Regions from separate parts of the Homo sapiens genome. Here region 2 is linked to region 1. Evidence: promoter capture Hi-C in human tissues and cell types (Jung and others, 2019). All regions are on one chromosome and are shown on one strand. Each heading gives the region's core, a stretch centred on a gene start or on the middle of the fragment in contact. The rest is flanking DNA. Distances are from core to core; before and after follow the strand shown.

Region 1 (4,327 bases), core at 498-2,997:
CCCCCATCCACACCTGGCACTCCCCTCTACCAATCCCTGGCACAGGGTTCCTGGAGAGCAGGTGCTGTACATTTTACAGCTTTACAATGGGGCTGTTGACAGCCATAATTAGGGAGGCATGAATTATGCGGCTATAATGCAGAGCCCTACAATTAAGGCGGGAATGAGGGGCTGGAGGCAGCAAACGGAATCTGCCCTATGAGCGTGGCTGTTGAGTCCTGTCTCCTGGGTCTGACTTTCCGTAATATGATTGGGGTACAGTAGAGGTGATTAATGGGGCTGGCATCTCTCTTTGGCCTGAGGTTCTGTATTCTGGGAAAGGTACACAGGGTGGAGTAGGGAGAAGCTGCCCCAGGAGGCGATGTAGTGGTGGAAAGAAGAGGCAGAGAGGTCGTCGTCGTCGCCCAGCAGCAAGGGCTGCAAAATAGTAGAACTCGTGGTTGCTTTGGACAGGTGTGATTTGTGCAAGCCAGGTTCAACCCTTGCCTCAAGAAATCAGATGGGACCAATTTAGTGTCCTTCCACCTGTGAGCCAAGCCCCCATTTGAGGACATCTATCGTATTCTTGTGTGCTGGGTCTCAAATAGAATTTTTAAAGATTCTTAGATGTAAAACTTGTTTGCTAACTGCAACGGAAGAACACCTTCTTTTGCTGCTGCAATTGCCTACCCTCCCTCAGGTGCACTTGGCTAGCTCCAAGACCCTGGCTTTGGACTAGGGGGCACCGGAAGAGCCCTTTTGCCATCACACCACCTGTTCCTCTACTTGTTTCCTAATCCCCGGGCGCTTTCCTCCACCCTCCTTTCCTCGCGCAAGTGAAAGGCAGCCAGCTTGACAGTGTGGAAGGAGGGATTTCGCCAGCTGCGGCTGCAGTGCCCAGGCTTGGTGGCCGCGTCGGGTTGGGCAGCTGGGCAAAATGTCTCCGAGAGGGGTAGAGTGTAGGGGGAAGTGAGTGCTGGTAGACCTCGACGGCCGCTCTCCACCATACTGTGGCGGGGTCTGGAGGTTTGGGAATACAGGGACCTTAAGGGAGCCACCCGAGAGGAGTTGGGGGTGGGGGCTTCGATAGCATTTGGGGAGGCGGCTGCGCAACGGGTGCTGAAAGGACAGCTCCTACCTGACCCACGGCACCCAAAAGGCACCTCTGCATGGAAAGTCTCCCCCTGAAACCCCTAGCCCACCTCGAGTGGGACCGTCTTTCAGGTGAGGTGCACGAAAGGCTTCTCCGAAGTGGCAGCTCGGAAGGATGCACGTCCGGCTGCGCCAAGCTGGTTTCCCCGCCTTTTTCCCACTTTGGCGTCAGCCTGGGCTCTGGGAACTGCAGCCTGTGCCTCCAGCCGCGCGCTTCCTCCTGCTTCCAGAGGAGCAGGGCAGTGCAGCCAGGCCTCGCAAACCCCTCTTCTGGGGCCCCCAGCGGGAGCAGGAAGGAAAGCCGCTGAGATGCGCCGTGAGTGTCGCACGGCTTGGAGAAGTGGGTTGCTGGGTTGCATAAGGTGGAAGGAACTTGCTAGTTTGCAAAAGACAGCTCTTGGCGGGAGCCGGAACCCGGAGCCCGCCGACTCGCGCACCCCTCCTCATTTACTGCCTTCGACGCGCGCCACCCCGACTGCGCCCCCACCCCCTCGGCGCGCCGCCGTCTCCGCGCACTACCCCCCCCACACACCCCCCTCCTCACTCCCTCCAGAGGAGGTGAGTTTAAACCCCGCCCACGTGACCCCAGCTGGGCCAATGAACGGCGGCGGGAGGTGAAATCCGGTTCTAACCGGTCCGGGGCTCCCAGCGCTATAAAAACTTTATAAACCCCCCGGAGCCCGAGCAGTGTGAAGAAGAGGCGAGAACGACCCCCGGACCGACCAAAGCCCGCGCGCCGCTGCATCCCGCGTCCAGCACCTACGTCCCGCTGCCGTCGCCGCCGCCACCATGCCCAAGAGAAAGGTACGTGGCGCGAGGGCCCCAGGCGCCGGGCCACCACTGCCGCCACCGCCGCCGCCGCCTCCCTGGTGCAGGGAGCGAGAATCGGCGCCGAGCAGGAGCCAGCGCAGCCTCCCCGCGCGGGGGCTGGAGACGGTGTCGGGCAGCTCGGGGCTAACCCTGAGCGGCTCGGCTGCCCGCGGGCGCCAGAGGCCATATTGGAGGAGCGGCGGCCGCGGCGGGAGGAGCCATGTTGGCGGCTGTTTATCCCGCTCTCCTCGGGCTCGCCGCCCCCGCCCCGTGCCCCCTCCCCCATCGCGAGGGCCCCTTCCCTCCCCTCCCTGCGGGCGGGCAATTCAAACCCGAAAGGGCGGGAAGGCGGCGCTCGGGGTTGGCGGGCGGGGGAAAGCGCTGCCGCCAAAAAACCGCCGCCGTGAGGGGCGGGGCTTGTGCGGTATGGCCCCGCCCCCTCGCCCACGTTCCCCGCGCACGAGACGCGCGCTGTCGCCGCCCACGAGTTCCCCGGGCTGCGCGCGCCTCCCTCTCCCGCCCTCGACGGCTGCCATAGCAACGGCGCTGGGCTCCGCCTCCGGAGGGGGTTTGTTTGCGCCATCTGCAGCTGTTGCTCCTGCCTGTCGCGGTGGTGCGGGCTCCGCTGCCCTCCCCGGCTGCGCTCCGGTCCAGCCCTCGCTTCTCGGGGTCGGCGAGCCGGAGCTCCTGCGCGCGCTTCGTTCTTATACGAACGTCGGGCTCACTCATTTATGTCCTAGAAAAGTTGTGTGGACGACTGCTTTAATTTTCATTTTTAGCACTCTAAAGTTTGGGAAGTAATTAAGAACCACCTCAAAATCTGCAGTTTTTTGTTCTTGTTTCTTATAGGCTGAAGGGGATGCTAAGGGAGATAAAGCAAAGGTGAAGGACGAAGTAAGTCATTCTCTCTTCAAGGGTCAAAGCCTTGGACTAGCAGAGGCCACTGGACTCGGTGATTAACCGTAACCTGTGTCCTGAATTTACACTCCTATAATCTAGAGCAAATTGATACCAAACTTTCAAAGCGACTTACCTGTCCTATTTCTAACTTTCTCGTTGTCTTTAATAGCCACAGAGAAGATCCGCGAGGTTGTCTGCTGTAAGTGTATGCTTTTGAATTTTCGTGCTTGTCCCTGAAACTAAAAAACATCAAAAAACAATTCCCTTTGCTTCCATGAATTATGGTTAGTGCCTGGTTTTGAATCATTGCCTCTACTTGGGACTCTTGCCCCTTTGGGTTTTGCTGGTTCTGAAATTCTGATGCCTGTAGCCAAAGTGGGACATTTGAGTGGGCTTCTGGAAATCCAACATTCTAGAAGAAAGCCAACCACAAAAACTTTTGAGGAGGAGGAGAAACTTCTCTACCCTTGGTACTTTTGGTTGGTTGTGGGTGGTTTTCTTCAGTCCATTGTACTGATGTTCACTTTTTCCTCTCTTCCTGCCAAAAAAAGAAACCTGCTCCTCCAAAGCCAGAGCCCAAGCCTAAAAAGGCCCCTGCAAAGGTAAGTGCTAACATTGGAACTGATCATTTTCACAGAATGAGGACTGTCCTTAGTGCCTTAACTTAATTAGCATAATGGTGCCTCCATTAATGGAGGTTATAAACTGTGTGGATAGCTTACCTCGTCCGTGTCATTCATAACGTTGGTTTCCTGATCAAGAATTCTGTTGTTAGTTTATAGGAAAATCTGCATTTAAATATTAAATACCCCAGGGTTTAAACTAATTTATTCTTCTGTTACTTAGGAAATTCTAAGTACTAAAGATTATAGCAAATTACAGATAATTTAGCCTAGTTTTGATCAGTTGTTCTTGTCAAATGGGTGAGGGTTTGTGTTTTATCTTGAGTAAACAATCCTACCTTGTGCAGAACTTTGCAGACCATACCTTGGTAATACGAAATGGGGAGAAACAGTTCTATTTTTTCCCCTTTTTCAGAAGGGAGAGAAGGTACCCAAAGGGAAAAAGGGAAAAGCTGATGCTGGCAAGGAGGGGAATAACCCTGCAGAAAATGGAGATGCCAAAACAGACCAGGTATAACTGCTGTTTCACCCTTTGTTAGATTTGTTCATTCAGTTAGTTGCTGATATCAAAAATTTAATTGCCCTTTTCTTGTATCACTCCAAATGTACCATTTGGTCCAGTGTGCTTGTGGCTTTCCTGTTAACTTAAATCCTGGATTCTTGAAATCTCTACTGTCAGCTGAAGGGCATTGTGTTTTATACTACATGAAGTTTTCAAGCTAGGAGTAACCTCAGGTCTCTTATTCTGGTGTTCTTCCTACCTCAATTTTACAGTGAGGCCCAGAGGAGAGGTGACTTAGCAAAGTTACCTAGTAAGTCATTCTCAGAAGAAATACTGAGTCTCAGTACCTGAAACCTGAACT
Region 2 (5,013 bases), core at 969-3,468, 1.1 Mb after region 1:
CCACATGCTCCTGGCCACACCTAGCCTATCTCAGACCAAAGATGTTGGAAAATAGCCTTTGGGGGTACCTTGGGAGGCCAAGAGAGGACATTTTGGACCATCCTGTGAAGCCCTTGCAGAGTGTGTGACCACGCCACACTGGCCACTCTTGGCCTGGCCCTCACCAGGCTGCCTCTTAGAATCAGTGAAGCTCCCAGGGAAATGGGGGTGCCAGCAGGGCTGGTCCTCTGGATAGGCCCTGGGTAGACGACCGTCCAACCTGCTTCTCCCTTCACCTGTCTCACACAGGGCGATACAAATGCCCACCCTTATCAGCGTATTTCCTGGGAAATACTCACTTCCTGCCCAAGACATAGCATGAACAAATAATTGAAAGCTTAATAAACCAAACTACAGGGCCCCATCCAGTGTGTAGTCCTCTGGCCATTTCAATTCACAAGACCCCCCCGAACGTTCAAGCCCCCTGCTGAGTTCCCAGCCCAAGCACCCCATCTCCTCCTGAGACTGTCCGCAACAGCGAATCCTGAATCCCTACACCCTGCTCTCAGTCCCCAGCCTTGCCCTTAAATCCTGCATTTGCTTCCTGCACTCCATACCTCTGTCCTTGCCTAAGCTCTGATGTCCTCTTCCCACCCCCAGGCCTCTGCCCACTGCGCCCACATCCCCAGACTCACCCAGGAACAAAACCTCGCGGTCCAGTCGGCACTTCAGTTGGCACTACAGGGATGTGACGGTGAATGTGTCCTCGGGGTGAGGTTCCGCCATGGGCCCCAGGAAGCCGCTCTTGGGGCCCCCACCCAGGCCAGGATGCGCCTGGGGCATAAAGCCTGGGTACCTGTAGGCGGTGTCCTGCAGGGGCAGCAGCGAGTCCCTCGGCACGGGGGACAGGGTCAAGTCACTAAGGAGTGGGCAGCCATAGCCAGCAGCGGCTGCAGCAGGGCCACGGGGTGGGCCAGGGGGCCGGGCCATTTCCAGTGGCTCCTTGTCGGCCTTGGGCGTGGCTGGTGGGCTAGCCAGGTGAGGGGCACTGAGGCACGCGGCCTCCGTCCTGCCCAGGAAGTCAGCCAGCAGCCCTGTACCCACCTTGCCTTCATAGGGCGGGCTGCGGGCAGCTGAGCCTGGAGGGTACCAATAGGCTGTGCCCTTGCAGCTGGGGGAATCGTAGTGGGGCTGGCCCAGCGGCAGGTCCCGGCAGCTCAGGTGGGCCTGGGCTGCAGCTGCGTGGCCCAGGCTGGCCCCCTGGAGTCCATGCTTGAGGGGCTCGCAGGCAGCCAGCTTTGTGGGCGGTGGCCGCAGCTCTTCCTTGAAGCCCAGTGTAGGCGAGCAGGTGGGCGAGTATGCCTTCTGCAGGCCGGCGTCAAACACCGTGGGTGGGTGGGCCAGCGGTGGGAAATGCTTGCCATCAAGCTCGGGAGCACCCAGGCTGGGCGAGTCGCAGTGGAAGCCTTGGCCAAAGGTGCCATCGGAAGGCGTGGACGGGTTCATGGAGTAGGGTCCTATGAAGTCACAGGGGTCTCGCTCTCCCACGCCGAAGGCCCTCGACTGTGAGGGCAGTGGTGACATGCTGCTGTCCCCGCTATAGTAGTCCAGGCCGAGGTCAGGACTGTCCTGGAACAGTGGGTTGACTGGCTGTGGCTTGGGGATGAACTTGGCTTTGGCCGCTGCGCCACCCCGCTCCTTCTTGGCTGAGCAGGCCCCACCGCCCCGTCCACCTCGCGGCTGCCGGGGCCCAGTGCTCCGTTTGGATGGGTAGCCTGAGGCAGCGGCAGAGGCGGATGTCGGGAAGCCCAGATGTGAGGCCTCGAACAGGTCCACCTTCTTCCGCCGTCCACGGCCCGGCTTGGAGCTACTCTGAAAGAGGACACTCTGGTTCCAGTTGTAGCCGGGGGCAGATGATGCCTCGTTCCAGTCCATCATCAGTTTCTCCAGGCTGGACAGGCTCGACTGGCCCTCACTACTTGAGGCCTCGCTGTTGGCACGCCGAAACCCCCCGCCACCAACCGGCTGATTGAACTGGGTGCTGTCGGAGGATGACTCAGAGAAGGTCTCCGACACAGCCGTCTGCTGCTTCACCTTCTGCGGTGTGTAGTTGGAGATGTCCAGGATCACGTTGGGCTCGCTGACGTGGCAGTCAAAACTGGGATTGTAGAGCTGACTAAAGGCCTCTGAGGCCCAGTCCAGGCCTCCATAGCCCTGCCGGAAAGGCCACTGAGAAGCCCCCGCAAACTGCCGACAGTTCTCGGGCGAGGGCTGGAAGGAGGAGGAGGAGGAGGAGGCGGCAGAGGCTGCAGAGGTGGCAGAGGCTGTGGTGCCCTTGGGTACCATGTAGCCACCGGGCGAGACTGTGCTGGCCCGGCTGTCACAGCGCAGGGGCGTGGGGGCTGAACCAGAGAAGGGGGCCCCCTCAGAGCTGCTGAAGAAGGAGGCCTTGCTTGGTGGCAGGCAGGGGCCCCCGGTAGGCGGTGGGGCATAGCCGGCGCTGTGGGCGCTGCTGGGTGAGGCAGGGAGGCTGTTGCCACTGCCATAGGCGAAGCTGCAGTCCTTGCTGTTAGCGCAGTCCTGGCCTGTAAAGGGCTTAGTTGGGGCGAATACGCTTTGTCCGGCCCCATAGCCGCCGTACTGGGGCAGGTAGGTGTTGGCAGGCGGGTGGGTGGTAGGTGAGCGGGCCATGGCTGAGGGCGGGGGCACCAGCTTGGGGAAGGTCTCGGCTGCCCGGCAGTCTGAAGCGGCTGGAGTTAGCCCATAGCTTGCTGCTCGTCCTGGTGGGAAGGTCTGGCGCGCGGACAGGACAGGCTGAAAGGAGGGGTCCGCCCCAGCCCCGCTGCTACCCACTGCCACTGGGCTGGCCTTGGCTCCCCGGCTAGGGAAGGTGGCCAGGCCCCGCTGGGCAGGCAGGGCACTGGTGGGTGGCCCTGCATAGGTGCCCGATGCCTTCCGGGACTCTGGGCGAGAGGCTGAGAGGGCAAAGTCCAAGAGATCGGAGGAGTCATCCGAATCGAGCAGCGAGCGAAAGTAGCCGGTGAAGAGGTTTTGGCGCTCCTGGCTGAGCTCGGTCTGGCCTGAGGGTGCACCCGTGCTGTAGTAGCTGCCACGGCCTGAGGCTCCACTCTCCAGCCCAGTGGAGGCAAAGGCCCGGGCCTCGGTCCCCTGAAACCCACAGTTTCGGCCAGCTTGTCCGCCTGGGTGCCCATGGTGAGGGGCCCAGCCACCACCCTTATCCCCGGCCCACTCAGCACCTGCCTCCCCAAAGCCTGGGCCACTGGGCACCTGCTCTGGGAACAGAGTCCCATTCTTCCGGGACCGTCTCTTGCGCTTTGGCTTCCCAGTCACAGCGTCTACCTCCCCCCGGCCCCGTTTGCGTGGGTGCCCCAACTCAGTAAGGCCCGGGCCCCCGACCCCAGCGGCTGCCACGGCCACCACCTTCTTTTTCTTGCCGATGCCCTCAAAGAAGTCACTGAAGGAGCATCGGGCTGACTTGGCCGCATGGCCCCCACCCCGGCCACCAAAACCGCCTGCTTTGCCCCCACGCCGCCGGAAGCCCTGCACACGATGCAGGAAGTGGGAGATGCTCTGGGTGTCGGGGGCCTGGTGCACCGACTCCGGCTCACTGGGTGTCCAGCAGCGGGGCGGTGAGCACCGTCCAGCGCACTGGCTCTGGCGGTTCAGGAAGGCCAGCTTGGCCAGGACGTCTGAGTACTCGGCCTTGCTGTCGTTGGCGTCTGCTGCATAGGATGGCTGGGGAGATGCCAGCTTCTGCTTCCGCCGCCGTCGTTTTTTTACCTCTGGCATGGCCATGGTGGCCGCTGCCACAGTGGCTGCCTCGGCCGCCACCACAGCTGGCTCCTTGGGCTTGCCGGGACCCAGCAGCAGGTTCTTAGGAGGGCGGCCGCGCTTACGTTTGAGAATAATGGGCATCTCACCGGGTGGGAAGACCACTACCACGTTCCGCCCATTGTTCTTCATCTTCAGCAGCGGGGTGGGCTCAGCCGACACGCGCAGGCCCAGCTCCTTGCCCTCCACGCTCAGGCTGCTGCTCAAGGAAGACACTTTGTATGTGGTCTTGTTCCGCCGCCCCAGCGATACGGGGATCTTGGCCATCTTCACCACCATGCGCCGCACGCCCCGGCACTTGCCTTTGCGGGTAGAGACCACTGGGGTCTGGGAAGATTCCGGCTTCAACTCTGGGACTGAGACCGGGCCTGGGCCTGGCAGGGCAGGGGGTGGAGGAGGCGGTGGTGGTGGGGGTTCGGCCAGGGCAGCCACCAGCCCCGTGGGCATAGGCAGGGGCAGTAGGCGGCCCTCGGGTCCGGCGTCTGCCTTGCGTCCCCGTCCGGCTTTCCGCCGGCGACACAGGATCTTTGGCCTATCAGTGCGCCGCAAGGCGTACTTGGGGTGACCCTCAGGCCCGGGGGGGCCGTGCGGTGAGCACAAGTCCAGGCGCAAGGGCTCGGCCAGTGGGCAGTGCCCCAGGGGCTGCTGGGGCTCCAGACGGCGACCTGGGACGTCAAGCAGCTTGGGCAGGGGGTCGAGTGCCTGGGGGTCAAGCAGCTGCGACTCCAAGGAGTCAGGCAGGGTGTCCAGGGCCTGGAGAGCCAGGCCCGGCAGCCCCAGAGGATCAGCAAGAGGTTGCAGGGGTGGCAGCTCCAGAGCTTCCCCGAGCGGCTCTAGTGCCTGCGGGTCCAGGAAGCGGGGCTGGGGGTCCAGGAGCTGAGGCTCCGGCTCGGGCGATGGTGGCTCGAGGGCCTGGGCCTCTAGCAGCTGGGCCTCTGGGCAAGTGAGGGAGGCCAGCTCACTAAGGATGTCGGCGTCAGCAAGTTCTGAGTAATCAGTGCTGTCTGGCTCAGGCTCTGGGGGCAGACCCGTGGCCGCAGCCGTGGCTCCGGGACTATGGCCTTGGCCAGGCTGGGGACTGTCCCTAGGCTCAGGCTCAGGCTCGTAGAGGGGATGGCTGGGCCGCTCCGACTTGGCGTGTGGGGTGGCCCGCTCCTCAGGGCTACGGATGCTGTTGGCCAA

The links. The method cuts DNA at HindIII sites, captures the fragments that hold promoters and counts their contacts. A contact is called where the count stands out against the background at its distance.
Region 2: a fragment that was not itself captured here is called in contact with the fragment with the promoter of HMGN2 in region 1 in 1 of the 25 tissues and cell types used here (pancreas).

The regions. Positions count from the first base shown.
Region 1 is chr1:26,470,693-26,475,019 of GRCh38, forward strand. HMGN2 (high mobility group nucleosomal binding domain 2) reads left to right here and starts at 1,748. Exons shown (of 6, transcript NM_005517.4): 1 at 1,748-1,935; 2 at 2,791-2,835; 3 at 3,011-3,040; 4 at 3,393-3,443; 5 at 3,880-3,975. The coding sequence starts at 1,921. DHDDS (dehydrodolichyl diphosphate synthase subunit) reads left to right here. Exons shown (of 9, transcript NM_205861.3): 9 at 1-614. RefSeq lists enhancers at 355-1,063, 1,064-1,773 and silencers at 1,143-1,558, 1,443-1,712, 1,973-2,262, 2,303-2,472. The HindIII fragment of the contact is 14,054 bases long and covers 1-4,327 here.
Region 2 is chr1:27,546,587-27,551,599 of GRCh38, forward strand. AHDC1 (AT-hook DNA binding motif containing 1) reads right to left here. Exons shown (of 9, transcript NM_001371928.1): 8 at 675-5,013. The coding sequence ends at 718. Among named protein-coding and RNA genes, the nearest start is that of AHDC1, 55 kb to the right of the region's middle. The HindIII fragment of the contact is 6,600 bases long and covers 1-5,013 here.